Regions from separate parts of the Homo sapiens genome. Here region 2 is linked to region 1. The links are contacts of gene promoters, found by promoter capture Hi-C in human tissues and cell types (Jung and others, 2019). All regions are on one chromosome and are shown on one strand. Each heading gives the region's core, a stretch centred on a gene start or on the middle of the fragment in contact. The rest is flanking DNA. Distances are from core to core; before and after follow the strand shown.

What was found. Contacts are between HindIII fragments. The study calls those that stand out against the background at their distance.
Region 2: a fragment that was not itself captured here is called in contact with the fragment with the promoter of CELA3A in region 1 in 1 of the 25 tissues and cell types used here (pancreas).

Annotation. Positions count from the first base shown.
Region 1 is chr1:21,996,892-22,004,209 of GRCh38, reverse strand. It overlaps CELA3A (chymotrypsin like elastase 3A), which reads right to left and starts at 2,553. Exons shown (of 8, transcript NM_005747.5): 1 at 2,493-2,553; 2 at 1,122-1,207. The coding sequence starts at 2,535. It also overlaps a transcript of CELA3B not described here. The HindIII fragment of the contact is 21,174 bases long and covers 1-7,318 here.
Region 2 is chr1:22,043,159-22,050,953 of GRCh38, reverse strand. No RefSeq gene overlaps it. Among named protein-coding and RNA genes, the nearest start is that of CDC42, 5.7 kb to the left of the region's middle. RefSeq lists an enhancer at 5,652-5,821. The HindIII fragment of the contact is 4,522 bases long and covers 1-3,735 here.

The DNA.
Region 1 (7,318 bases), core at 1,304-3,803:
GTCCTAGCTACACAGGAGGCTGAGGTGGGATTATTGCTTGGACCTAGGAGGTCAAGGCTGCAGTAAGCTGAGATCACACCACTGCACTCCAGCCTGGGCAACACAGCAAGACCCTGTCTCAAAAAAAAAAAAAACAAAGAAAAGAAAAGAAAAGAAAAAAGCACTGAGGAAATGAATTGTTAACATTTTTAATGTAAGTAAATTTCAGCTGGGTGCAGTGACTCACACCTGTAATCCCAGCACTTTGAGAGGCCGAGGCAGGTGGATCACCTGAGGTCAGAAGCTCCAGACTGGCCTGGCCAACACAGTGAAACCCTGTCTCTACTAAAAATACAAAATTAGCCGGGCTTGGTGGCGCGTGCCTGTAATCCCAGCTACTTGGGAGGTGAGGTAGGAGAATTGCTTGAACCCGGGTGGCAGAGTTTGCAGTGAGCCAAGATTGTGCCATTGCACTTCAGCCTGGGCAACAAGAGTGAAACTCTGTCTCAATAATAATAGTAATAATAATTTAATTTAATTTTTTTTTTTGAGACAGAGTCTCACTCTGTTGCCCGGGGCTGGAGTGCAGTGGTGCAATCTTGTCTCACTGCAACCTCCAACTCCCAGGTTCAAGGGATTCTCCTGCCTCAGCCTCCTGAGTAGCTGGGATTACAGGCGTGAGCCACCGCACCTGGCCTAATTTAATTAAATTTAAATAGCCACAGCACATCAAGTCCAGCCTTCTGAGCTTCCCTCCACTGGCCTTACAAGATCCCTCACTCCCTTATTGCTTTCAGACCTCAAAGCCCTGTAGTATCATCCTAGGAATCTAGAAATGAGTCTCTCAAAATCTCACTTCGTCAACACAGTGCCTGAAATTCCACCATCAGTGTGCCAACTCCTTGAGTTTAGCATTTCCTTCACCCCCGATTCCAATTTTAAGTTGCAAATAGCCCAGTGAGGGTTACAGATGAAACGGGCAAAACCTCCCCGTGAAGTAGATGGTCCAAGGGCTGCCTGGTCTTTGGAAGCTGAAGTGGACATTGCAAAGGGAGCAATGGTGTCAAGGCTGGATGCCACGCCATTAGAGCTTAGGGTCCAGAGCCCACGGTGGGAATGAGGGCAGCTGCTATTGCTCTTACCTGCCAGGGCCAGCTGTAGGGGACCGCATCCTCACCATGGACAACGCGGCTGGAAGAGTGAGAGGAAGGTGGGCCATAGCCTGAGGCTAGAGGGGAGAGGAGAGCTGTCAATCAGCTGGAGGGTCCCCAAAAGCAAAGAGGAGGCCAGGGTCCCAGTCCAAGCCATGCCTTCAACTGGCTGTGTGACCCCATGCAAGCCCCTTTCGCCCTCTGGACCTCAGTAACCACATATGAACAGTGAACATTTAAACTAGAGCAGGGCTTTCCAGAATCCCAGGAGTCCAGGGATAGAGATTCAAATGTGGCCTCCTTCATTGGGAGGATTGAAGAGCTTGATACACTTAGAACAATGCCTGGCCCTCGATGAGCCCTCAAAAAGTGAGAGCTATTGTCATACAGAGTGGAGGCTTTAAAGAAGGACTTCCTGGGTTCAAAGTGCAGCTCTGGGCTGTGTGTGGTGGTTCACACCTGTAATCCTAGTGCTCTGAGAGGCCGAGGCGGGAGGATCGCTTGAGCCCGGGAGTTTGAGACCAGCCTGGGCAACATAGCAAGACCTCATCTCTAGAAAAATAAAGTACAATAAAATAAAGTAGCCAGGTATGGTGGCATGTGCCTATAATCTCAGCTACTCAGGAGGCTAAGGTGGTAGGATTGCTTGAGGCCAGGATTTTGAGACCAGTCTGGGCAACAAAGCAAGACCCCATCTCTACAAAAAAAAAGCAAAAAATAAAAACATTAAGTGCAGCTCTGCCTTTTGTTCTATGATAAGCTACTTTACTTCCTTGAGGGTCAGTAAAATGGGGGATAATGATAGTACTGATCTCCTGAGGCTGTTGTGAGAATTACATGAGAAAGTATAAGAAAATCCCTAAACATTCTGCCTGGCATAGTAAGCACTCAATCAATGTTATCTGTTACCATTATTGTCAGTCAAGGGAGGCTGTTTGGAAGAGGTGGCCCTGAGCTGGAATGTAATATGGCAGAGAGACCAGGAAAAGGCCAGAGCATAGAATATGGAGCCAGGTAGGGGGAGTGAGAGGAGAGTTGGAGTGGTAAGTAGAACTGTGGAAATTCCAACCCAAGAAGTCCAACCACACAGTCCAAACTCTTAACCGTTTGACTTTGTTTACTGCCCCCATCAAGGACTTCCACCACAGCCCTTTGGGGGTCTTTCACCATCCACAGCTTCCCCTCCACTCTCCTGCTCCATCATAAGCTGAAAGCCCCTACAGTCATGCCCCCGGGTACAAGCTGAGACCCCCTCCTGTGGAACCAGGCATAGCATGTCATGGGACTCAGAGCGAGTGGTAGATTTCAAGGATTCCTAGTCCAGGGCAGCCCAGGGAGCACACAGACAGGTTGGGGTCTTACCAACGGCCACAAGGAGGAGGGAACTGAGCAGCCGGAGCATCATGAGTTTTGTGATGATAGGAAAAGGGCACAGAGCCTGGGGCTCTAATATAGGGCAGAAGGTAAGCAGGGGGGCTGATTGGGCCCCACTCCCAGAACAGGTGGTGGAACTCCAGGTCTCCCATGGTCCAAGGCCACAGTCCTCGCCTGCTGCAGATGGACAAGTGACAGCCAAAGGGAGGACCTAGCGTTCCCTCCAACAGGTGGCTGGACAGGTGGTGTGGAGTGGCCAACTGATAACAAGAGTTCAGGAAGAAAAGCTCATGTCAGGACAAGACCTCCTCTTTCGGAAAGAACAGGGGCACTGGAACCGGGCAGACCACGGTTCAATCCTGGTTCTGCCACCTTCAAGCTCTGCGACTTTGGGCGCATGGCTTAACCTCTCTGAGTCTCAGTTTTCTGCTCTCTAACATGAGATTTATATTAGTACCCACCTCCACAAAAAAATTCTTGTTGAGCACTTTTTCTCTATGTATCAGGCACTGTTCTAGGGGATACAGCTGTGAAAAATGCATGGTCTCAGCCCTTCTAGAGTTTGAGTCTAGGCCAGGAGCGGTGGCTCACACCTGTGATCCCAGCGCTTTGGGAGGCCAAGGTGGGAGGATCACTTGAGGTCAGAAGTTCGAGACATGATGAAACCCTATCTCTACTAAAACTACAAAAATTAGCCAGGTGTGGTGGTGAGCACCTGTAATCCCAGCACCTGTAATCCTAGCTACTGGGAGGCTGAGGGAGGAGAATCACTTGAACCTGGGAGCGGAGAGGCAGAGGCTACAGAGAGCCGAGATCATGCCACTGCACTCCAGCCTGGGCCACAGAGCAACACTGTCTCAAAAAACAAAAACAAAACCAAAAAAAAAAACAGAGAAGAAAAGAAAATGAAACATAGGTGATTGGGGTAGGAATGGGAGTAAGTCATTTAGATGGGGGGGACAGAGAAAGTGACATTTGGGCTGAGGAGGTCATATCTGATGGAGTCCTGAGGATAAGTAAAAGCCAGCCACGGGAATCCCTGAAAGAAACGCGCTCTGAAGGGAGGCGACAGCAGGTGCGAAGTTCTGGAGGCTGCAATGGGCTTGACTTGTTCAAGGAAGGGGAGGCCAGTGTGACAGGAGCTTGGTAGTCAAAGTAGAGAGGGGTGGGAGATGAGGTCAAAGAGCAGGCGACCCCGAAAGTGGAATTCACAGGTGATCCAGCCGTTTCCCTCCTAGGTCTATACCGTGAGAAAACCTTAGGCATGTGCTCCAGGAGGTGTGGATGAGATTGTTTGCCGCAGCCCCTGTTCTCAAAACTCAACAGCAAAGACCTAGAAACAACTCCCACGTCCATCAAGGTTCATAGGTCAATATGTGTAGCATATTCACACAATAGATTTTTTTTTTTATAGTGGTGCGATCTTGGCTCACTGCAACCTCCACCTCACGGGTTCAAGCGATTCTCCTGCCTCAGCCTCCTGAGTAGCTGGGATTACAGGCGCGCACCACCACGCCCGGCTAATTTTTGTATTTTTAGTAGAGACGGGGTTTCACCATGTTGGCCAGGCTGGTCTCCAACTCCTGACCTCTGGTGATCCACCCACCTCGACCTCCCAAAGTACTGGGATTACAGGCATGAGCCACTGCATCCGGCCAGACGGGGCAATTTAAATAGATCCCTCCTGGGGGAAAGTCAGGCATCTTGCTGAGCAGGTTTTGTTTTAGGAGTGAACCCCCTCCAATCACAGCCTAGCCACTCTGATAGCCTGGGTTCGTGGAACGTGTGTGGACACAAGGGAAGCAGCTGTGAAAATCCTTTATACTGTGATAAAAATAGCCATGCCCTCCCCTACCCTCTGTTCCCTATGTGCCCGGACATGTTTGCTCAGCTTGAAAGCTCTGAGCCATTCCCCAGACCCTACGCCAGGGAAGAAGGAGGGAGGGGCCCAGGAGGTGGCTGGGGAGAGATAGGGTTAGGTCCGATAAGCCCAGATTCCACTGTAGAGTGTCTGAAACCCACAGGGCCTAAAACGCGATCTAATCCAACCACTTTTATTTGACAGAAGGGAAAATGATGGGCCAGGCACAGTGGCTCACGCCTGTAATCCCAACACTTTGGGAGGCCGAGGAGGGTGGACCACCTGAGGTCAGGAGTTCGAGACCAGCCTGACCAACATGGAGAAACCCCATCTCTACTAAAAACACAAAATTAGCCGGGTGTGGTGGCACATGCCTGTAATCCCAGCTACTAGGGAGGGTGAGGCAGGAAAATCGCTTGAACCTGGGAGGCGGAGTTTGCGGTGAGCCGAGATCGTGCCATTGCACTCCAGCCTGGGCAATAAGAGCAAAACTCTGTCACAAAAAAAAAAAAAAGAAGAAGAAAATGATGACCCAGAGAAAAGCCAGGACTTGGTCAAGTTTCCCTGGTTTGTTACTGCTTGGCCTGGTGAAGGGTAGCCCACGGACACGGGAGGGTCCACTCTCCCTCCCCCAACTTCAACCGAGAAGCCTTCCCGGCTTCTTACCCAGGTGACCTTGAGCAAGTCCCAGCCTCTCTGTCGGCTCTGCTGGGTCCCCAGGGAGAGGGGCTCCCTGACGCCAACTGTCCCACCACAACCCCTGCCTGATTGGTTACTTCAAGGCCTTATGGACTGACACTGGCAGTTGCACGGCTGATTAACTCTCCGAGGGTTTTCTGGCCTAGGAGTAGCTTGAGTGAAATCCCTGAAGATGAACCTCCTTCCAACACCTGCCCCGCAAGAGGGAAGATGGAGGGGTTAGATCTACTTTAGGCCTCAGCCTGAAGCAAAGCAAGCCATTTCCTGAATGGGAGGTGGAGGTTAGGTCGGAGAGTATGCAAAATTAGGAGGTCAGTCTGGGAAGGAGAGGGAGGGCGGGGAAGCTGGCGAGGGGACGGAGGGGAAGCTGGTGAGCCTTTTTCCCGGGACTGGGGGAGTTCCATTCTTTCCAGTTCCCACCCCACAGGAAGCTCTTTGAGGATCAAAACTTTATCTTATTCATCTTCCGATTCCCAGTACCTAGAAGGGAGCCTGGCACATGGTAGGTTTTCAACAGCATTTATTCAAGGAGACAACAAATGAATGAAGGAAGGGAAAGGACTCTTCAAATGCCCTCCGCTTCCTACCCTGAAAGCACGGTTGAGCCTGATATTCATGCAGGATGCACCTGGAGGGTGTCCCCTCTGTGTGGCCTGGAAAAGCGCAGCAGCATCTGGATGGTGTCCTGATGGGCACATTCTAGAGATATTAATAGATGTTTGATGATAAATGGACCCACTAGAACGGAGCCCCCATGGGGCGGGGGGTTTTGTGTGCTTTGTTCACTGCTGTGGCCTCGGCTCCCAGAATATAACCCAGTGGGCACTCAGTGAAGAACTAAAGGTCAGATGGGATTGGAAAATATGAGCTCAAACAAAGTTCAAATTGTCCTTTCCTACAGGACTTCTCAGAGCCTTTAATATGCCAGTGTTCACGGTGAATCACACACAGTGGTCCTAAGTCCGGGACTCTGGTGCCTTGTTGCCCTGTAGTTTCTGTGAAAATAAGATATTCAAAATCTAAGCTGTTGGAACTTTAAAATACCTTAGACTTAAGGGAATGAGATTATGGGACCTGAGTAATGTAAACAGGAAGGCATAACTTTTGTTTGTGTTATCGATTAGCTTTTCCTTAACTACATTGTTTTATAAAATGTTGTAAATGACTAAAGGGTGACAGGGCAGACTGTTTCCCTCTCAACAGTCAATCTTCATTATAGATTAACTTCCTTCTTTTCTCTCTCACACAAAGACTTCATGACTATCACATTATCTAAGATAGAATGTTAAATACACAAATTGGAAAGGAAAATAAAACAAAGTGTATGGAAAAGAAGACAAATTTTAACTAGCTATATTGTTGTAACTCATAAACCAGCCTGGTATAGAAATGTTATAGTCCTACTAAATTTGTTTCCTGCCTGTATGAGCAAGATCATAATTTTTTTTTTTTTTTGGAGACGAAGTCTCACTCTTGTCCCCCAGGCTGGAGTGCAATGGCTAGATCTCGGCTCACTGCCACCTTCGCCTCCCGGGTTCAAGTGATTCTTCTGCCCTCAGCCTCCCAGGTAGCTGGGATTACAGGCACCTGCCACCACACCAGGCTAATTTTTGGATTTTTAGTAGAGGCAGGGTTTCACCACATTGGCCAGGCTGTTCTCAAACTCCTAACCTCAGGTGATCCACCCACCTTGGCCTCCCAAAGTGTGGGATTACAGTCGTGAGCCACCACGCCCAGCATTTTTTTTTTTTTTTGAGACGAGTCTTGCTCTTGTCTTGCTCTTTTTTTTTTTTTTGAGATGAGTCGTGCCAGACTGGAGTGCAATGGCACGATCTCAGCTCACTGCAACCTCTGCCTCCCAGGTTAAAGCAATTCTCCTGCCTCAGCCTCCCAAGTAGCTGGGGTTACAGGCATGTACCACCACGCCCGGCTAATTTTTTGTATTTTTAGTAGAGATGGGGTCTCACCAGGTTGGCCAGCCTGGTCTCAAACTCCTGACTTCAAATGATCTGCCCGCCTCAGCCTCCCAAAATGCCAGGATTACAGGCGTGAGCCACCACGCCCGGCGGGACTTTAACTTTTAACTTTGGAGCACTTACTCCTCTTCTCTGGAGCCCATGTTTCTGGATGACTATTCTCAGATTTTTGCTGGAATAAATTCTTAAAAACCGGATTCTGATCTCTTTGATGACTACAGGTCAACATTTCCCAGCTACCAGCCCCAGCTGTCTCAGATGGGTCAGCAGTGTCAGGG
Region 2 (7,795 bases), core at 225-2,724, 48 kb before region 1:
GTCATATTTTCTTTTGGATTTTTTTTTTTTTTTTGAGACGGAGTCTCGCTCTGTCACCCAGGCTGGAATGCAGTGGTTCGATCTCGGCTCACTGCAATCTCCGCCTCCCGGGTTCAAGCAATTCTCCTGCCTCAGCCTCCCAAGTGGCTGAGACTACAGGTGCCCACCACCATGCCCAGCTAATTTTTGTATTTTTAGTAGAGACGGGGTTTCACCATATTGGCCAAGCTGGTCTTGAACTCATGACTTTGTGATCCACCTGCCTTGGCCTCCCAAAGGGCTGCGATTACAGGTGTAAGCCACCGCACCCAGCCCTCTTTTGGATTTTTTAATTACCCAAAAATAAGAACTACATTTTTTAGTGTTTACTGCAGGTATGGCTAATAGCTTTGCAGGTAGTAGTAGCTAATTTAATACTCACAGCCACCCTATGAGTTAAGAACTGTTACCCCCACTTTATGGTTACATGAACTGAAGCTCAGAGGTGTTAAGAGACTTGTCCATAGCCGCCATGCCAAGCAGTGGCAGAGCTGAGACTTGCACTCAGGAGGCTGGCTCTAGTTGACTATGACACTACCACACTATCAAGCAGGTTTATTATAGAGAAATTAGAAGATAAGCTTCAGGCCAGGCACAGTGGCTCACATCTGTAATCCCAGCACTTTGTGAGGCTGAGGCTGGTGGATCACCTGAGGTCAGGAGTTGAAGACCAGCCTGACCAACATGGTAAAACCCCATCTGTACTAAAAAACACACACACAAAAATTTGCTCGGTGTGGTGGCAGGTGCCTGTAATCCCAGCTACTTGGGAGGCTGAGGCAGGAGAATCATTTGAATCCAGGAGGCGGAGGTTGCAGTGACCCCGAGATCATGCCATTGCACTCCAGCCTAGGCGACAAAAAAGTGAAACTCTGTCTCAAAAAAAAAAAAAAAAAAAAGCCAGGTGCGGTGGCTCACGCCTGTAATTCCAGCACTCCGGGAGGCCGAGGTGGGCGGATCACTTGAGGTCAGGAGTTCAAGACTAGCCTGACCAACATGGTGAAACCCTTTCTCTACTAAAAATACAAAAATTAGCTGGGTGTGGCATGCACTTGTATTCGCAGCTACTCGGGAGGCTGAGACAGGAGAATCGCTGGAACCTGGGAGGCAGAGGTTGCAGTGAGCCGAGATTGCGCCATTGCACTCTAGCCTGGGCAACAAGAACAAAACCCCACCTAAAAAAAAAAAACAGGAAGATAAGCTTCAGCTGTAGTCCTACCTCTAATGTGGCTCACACCTATAATCCTAACACTTTGGGAGGCCGAGGCGGGTGGATCACTTGAGCCCAGGAGTTCAAGACCAGTCTGGGCAACATAGCAAGACCTGCCCCCACCCATCTCTACAAAAAATACAAAAACAAAACAAAACAAAAAAACTACATTGTGAACATCTTTCCATGTCAAATAAAGCATCATTTGTAAAGGCTGCATTTTACTCTCCGGGCATTGCAATATTTACCCAGACTCCTACTGTTGGAATTTGGGTTGTTTTGGGCTATTGTGAATTTATTACTATTGTAAAAATGCATAAGCTTCATTTTTTAAACTTGAGGGGAAAATGGTTGTTTCTTCCCTTCACAAGTCCAGCTGGCAGTGCCCTTTCCTTCATCCTGTCTCACAATCCCATGAATGTCCCCAGACAACGTCTGCCCTTTCCAGTAGCAGCAATATCTTGATGGGGTGTCACCCAACTGTTCAGCTTTTCCTGCCTTTATTCTGAGGACAAGGACTTACTTAGCACTATGTCTTTTATGTTGTCAGGTTTTTTGTCAGAAGAACCCTCCTAGACCTTTTCACAGCCCCAAACAGCAGTGGCAATGGTGTTACTATTACTTGACCCAATCTACCATGTCCCTCACTGCTGGCCCAGCCCCCAGCCTCCTAGTGCCTCCCCGCTACTGCCCCACTGCTATAGCTGCCTCATGTTAACAGGAGGGACAGCCTGTGGGACTCCGGCTCCCTTCCCGGTGGCTACCATTCCGGTGTCCATTCTTCCTTCTGGTAACAGCACTTCCATTTCTCCTAGAGCAGCCCCTGCCCCAACTCTCAATCCATGTGGCTCTAGAGATGACACTATCTCTAGTTGCGGGAATGGACACGTGACCCAGGCTTGGCCAATCACAGCATTATAGAGAGCCCTGTTGCCACACCATTTCAGCAACAGGCATGTGACCCAATGAGATTTAATTCTGGAACTTTGGTCACAACTATTCAGTTCAGTGAATCTCTGTTTGCTGAGAGTAGGATGTAATCGTGGCACTGCTGGCAGCCAGCTTCCCACTGCAAGCAGAGATGCTGCCTGAGAATGAGACCAAGACAGAGGGGGAAACAGAACTGAGAGATGGAGACATGAAACCAAGTCCCAGTGGCATTGCATGAGACATCAGATCCAGTCTTGCTTCAATCTTCAGTCACATTAGCAATAAATTCCCTCTATTGCCTGAACGAGGTTGAGTAGGTTTCTGTTGCTTATGACTGCCAAACTCTTGATGAATCACTGCCACCCCTGCCCTGCTTGTCTGCCCATGAGGTACTTGTCCCTACCCTCTAGGTAATAACTCCCAAATCTATACCTCTTCCAACCCCTATTCCCACCCCCAATTTTTTTTTTTTTTTTTTTTTTTTTGAGACAGAGTCTCACTCTGTCAACCAGGCTGGAGTGCAATGGTGCGATCTCAGCTCACTGCAACCTCCCCTCCCAGGTTCAAGTGATTCTCCTGCCTCAGCCTCCCGAGTAGCTGGGATTGCAGGCAACTGCTACCATGCCCAGCTAATTTTTGTATTTTTTAGTAGAGATGGGGTTTCACCATGTTGGCCAGGCTGGTCTCAAACTCCTGACTACAGGCGATCCACCCGCCTCAGCCTCCCAAAGTGCTGGGATTACAGGCGTGAGCCACCGCGCCCGGCATCCTACCCCCATTTTCAAATTTCCAGCTACTCAGCACCATCAAAATCATCTTCCAGCTCCCACCTACTCCAGGGTCTAAGCACCTATGTCTGCTTTTGGCCCCTACAGCCTTGTATATCCAGGAGTTCTCAACCTTTTCTGCATCACAGATCCTATACCCACAAAATTCATATCTAATTTCTAGAGGCTCCCTTCAAGCTCTCTGCTTTAGTCCAGGCATGGTGGCTCATGCCTATAATCCCAACACTTTGGGAGGCTGAAGCGGGAGGATCACTTGAACCCAGGAGTTTGAGACCAGGCTGGGCAACATACTGAGACCTCATCTCTACAAGAAATATAAAAACCGTGTGGTGGCAAGCACCTGTAGTCCCAGCTACTTGGGGAGGCTGAGATGTGAGGGTCGCTTGAGCCTGCGATGTTGAGGCTGCAGTGAGCCATGATCATGCCAGTGCACTACACTGCACTCCAGCCTGGGTGACAAAGCAAGACCCTGTCTCAAAAAAATAAATAAAAAGAATCTCAGCTGGGTGCGGTGGCTCACGCCTCTAATCCCAGCACTTTGGGAGGCCAAGGCGGGAGGATCACGAGGTCAGGAGATCAAGACCATTGTGGCCAACATGGTGAAACCCTGTCTCTACTAAAATACAAAAAATTAGCTGGGTATAGTGGCGCTCACCTGTAGTCCTAGCTACTCAGGAGGCTGAGGCAGGGGAATCGCTTGAACCCGGAAGGCGGAGGTTTCAGTGAGCAGAGATCGCACCACTGCACTCCAGCCTGGCCACAGAGCAAGACTCCGTCTCAAAAAAAAAAAAAAAAAAAAAGAATCTCTACTTTAACTCATTTGACAAAGCACAGCATTTATCTTCCTATATCATCGCTCTGATTAGGTCACTCCCTTACTCAGAAACCTTCAGTGTTTTCTCCTTTGTCTTCAGAATAAAATTTAAGACCTTTGGTTGGGTACAGTGACTCAGACCTGTAATCCCAGCACTTTGGGAGGCCGAGGTGGGCAGATCATGAGGTCAGGAGTTTGAAACCAGCTTGACCAACATGGTGAAACCCCATCTCTACTAAAAATACAAAAATTGGCTGGGTATGTTGGTGCATGCATGTAATCCCAGCTACTCAGGAGGCTGAGGCAGGAGAATCGCTTCAATCTAGGAGGTGGAGGTTGCAGTGCCTGGGTGACAGAGAGAGACTCCATCTCAAAAAAAAAAAAAAAAATTTAAGACTTTACCCAGACATTCTATGTCCTCTATGATCTTTGCCTTTCCAAAGTGATTTCCCTTTCTTTTTGTATTAGTCATAGTTCTCCAGAGAAACAGAACCAATAGAATGGTAATATATATTATTTATATATTACATATAAAACCATTCTGGCCATGTGCAGTGCCTCACACCTGTAATCCCAGCACTCTGGGAGGCCAAGGCGGGTGGAACACTTGAGGTCAGGAGTTCGAGACCAGCCTGGCCAACATGGTGAAACCTCATATCTACTAAAAATACAAAATTAGCTGTGTGTAGTGATGCGTGCTTGTAATCTCAGCTACTTGGGAGGCTGAGGCAGGAGAATCATTTGAGCCCAGGAGGTGGAGGTTGCAGTGAGCCGAGATCGAACAACTGCACTCCAGCCTGGGCGACAGAGGGAGACTCCATCTCGAAATAATAATAAAAATAAAACCATTCTCTATATAGAGAGTGGTTATATATACATATAGAATGGTCTATATATAATATATAAATTATATATTATATAATCATACATAATATATAAATTATATATAATAATCTCTATATATAAAATATACATATATATATATAGAGAGAAAGATTTATTATAAGAGATTTATTATAATTGGCTCACTCACACGACTATGGAGGACAAGTCCCAAGATACACAGGGTGAGTCACTGAGCTGGAGACCCAGGAGAGCCAATGGTGTAGCTCCAGTCCAAGCCTGAAGGCCTGAGAACCAGGAGAGCTGATGTTTCAGTTCCAGTCCAAAGGCCAGCAGGCTCAAGACAGAGGAAGAGCCAGTGTTTCTCTTTGAAGTCTGAAGGCAAGAAAAATTCTCCCTCAGTCAAGGGAGGGTCAGCCTTTTTGTTTTATGTTGGCCTTCAACTGATTGGATGAGAGGGCAATTTGTTTTGCTCAGTCTCCTGATTCAGATCTTAATCTCATCCAGAAACAAGTTTGCAGTCACACCGAAAATAATGTTTGACCAAATATCTGGGCACCCCATGGCCCAGTCAAGTTGACATATAAAATTAATCATCACACCTTCCACTACACACCTATGCTACAGCTAGACTGTATAATACTTAGTATCATACAGGCAGGAACCATGACTTCTCACCTCTCTGCCACTGCTCATGCTGATCCTCTTCCCTAAAACACCTTTCCTGCTTATCCATCCTACATGTCAAGTCCACTCTTCTTCCCACCATGAACTGTACATTTTGCCAACATCCACCTTGTGTCCTTTCCCACCTCTGTGCCTCTGTGGATTCAGTGGCTCCCTTCTCTGTCTGCCAAACTCCACTCTTCTCTCCTTCAAGGACTGGCCTAGGCCTTAGTTTTGAAATCTCCCGACAACCCCAGGCAACCAATCAGTCTTATATCACTTTGTATTTAAAGCATCTCATATTGGAATTATTTGTATCTATTTATGCTAAACTATTAGGCCATAAGCAGGCAGAGATCTTATTCATTTTATTTTTTTTTACCTAATTTCCTGGCACACTGCCATCCCTCAAAAATGTTTGATAAATGATGCATGAATGCATACACCACCACCTCTTACACAAAGCCAGCTCTGCTTCCCACTGCCAAAAGGGATTGCTGGCTCTTCTAAACCCCCAGAGCCCTTATCAGAGCCCCTCTCCAGGCCCTCTGTCTGGGCTATCATGTTTACCCACACTTTTTCCACCCTACTGCAAGCTCCCAGGGGCAAGCTTGGTTTTGGATGCATTGCTGTGCCCCTCACAGTCCTCTTCAGATCCCTAGAACACTTTGGCTGAATGAGAGAAGCCTCATACTGCATTCTCTGCCAAATGCAAGACTGCAAATCCACCACCATCTCCCCAAGGGCCTGCCAAGATTTACTAAAGAAGAAGAAGATCTACATTAAAGAGGCTCTCCTCCAAGGTCTTCAGGCTTGGGATTTGTGTGAGAAAATTCTAATTTAAGACTTTCTGTGTGATTCATAGGCAAAAACTGCGAAGAAAACCAAGGAAGTGATTATCATACAAATTCAGCTAGTGGCCGCCTCTAAAGGGGGTTAGAATCTGGAAGGGATGGGGGTACTGGGGGGGCAGTGTTGGCAGTGTTCTATTTCATGACCTGGGTGATGATTACATGGATGTTTGCCTTATCATTATTTATTCTATGGTACATGTTTTATTTGCTTTTCGTATGTGTAATAGTTCATTAAAAAATAAAAGGCCAGGTGCAGTGGTTCATGCCTGTAATCCTAGCACTCTGGGCGGCTGAGGCAGGTGGATCACTTGAGGTCAGGAGTTCAAGACCAGCCTGGCCAACAGGGCCCGTCTCTACTAAAAATACAAAAATTAGCCAGGCATGGTGATGCATGCCTGTAGTCCCAGCTACTTGAAAGGCTGAGGCAGGAGAATGGCTTGAACCCGGGAGGCGGAGGTCGCAGTGAGCCAAGATGGTGTCATTGCACTCCAGCCTGGGTGACAGAGCAAGACTCTGTCTCGAAATAAATAAATAAATAAATAAATAATAAAAGTTAGGGCCAGACACAGTGGCTCAAGGCTGTAATCCTAGCACTTTGGGAGGCTGAGGCGGGCAGATCACTTGAGGTCAGGAGTTCAAGCCTGGCCAACATGGTGAAATCCCATTTCTACTAAAAATACAAAAACTAGCAGGTGTGGTGGTGGGTGCCTGTAATCCCAGCTACTTGGGAGGCTGAGGCAGGAGAATCACTTGAACCCAGGAGATGGAGGTTGCAGTGAGAGGAGATCATGCCACTGCACTCCAGCCTGGGCAACAGAGTGAGACTCTGTCTCAAAAAAAAAAAAGTTAAAGCCTAGGCAACATAGCAAGACCCTCGTCTCTACAAAAAAAATACAAAAATTAGCCGGGAATGGTGGTGTGCGTCTGTAGTGCTAATTACTCAGGAGGTGGGAGGATCATTTGAGCCAGGAGTTCAAGGCTGCAGTGAGCCAAGATCACACCACTGCACTTGAGCCTGGGCAACAGAGTGAGACCACCGTCTCAAAAAAATAAATAAAAATTAATTAAAGTTGAAAATAAATATATTAAAGTATCTCTGTTGTTGCCAAAAGGTTGATGTGTTGTATAATTCATATCACTGAGACCGCAGCCCACCCCTCTTTCCTGATTCCCCTGGCTGGTCATGGCCCAGACCTCTCCAGGAGCCCCCCAACCCTACTGCCAGGACTCCAGCCGTGTTCCTGGTTTACCTGCTGCACCACAAGGGGTTACAGCTGCTGGGGCTGCCTCCACTAAGGGATCTGCTCCCTCTGCAGCCCCTCCAGCTGTTCAGCCTCCCTCCTCCACTTATGCCCACATCATTATGCTTGTCTAGGGACCTGAACCCTTCCTGGAGGCAGAGAAAGGGGAGGAACTCACCAAACCTGTTTCCTTCTTGCCTTTTCTCTAACTGGCCCAGGCTTGCCTCCTTCATCTTGCTTACACATCTCTGGCAAAGATAATCTGGGTCACTGAACAAGGGTGGATGAGAAAGGATAGGGGAAAGAGTAAAGTCCAGAAATAACTGAGCAACTCTGTCCCCATCGTGTAGGCCCTTGTCCATCTCTCCAATCTCATCAGGACCACGTACTCACTCACTGGGCTCCGGCCA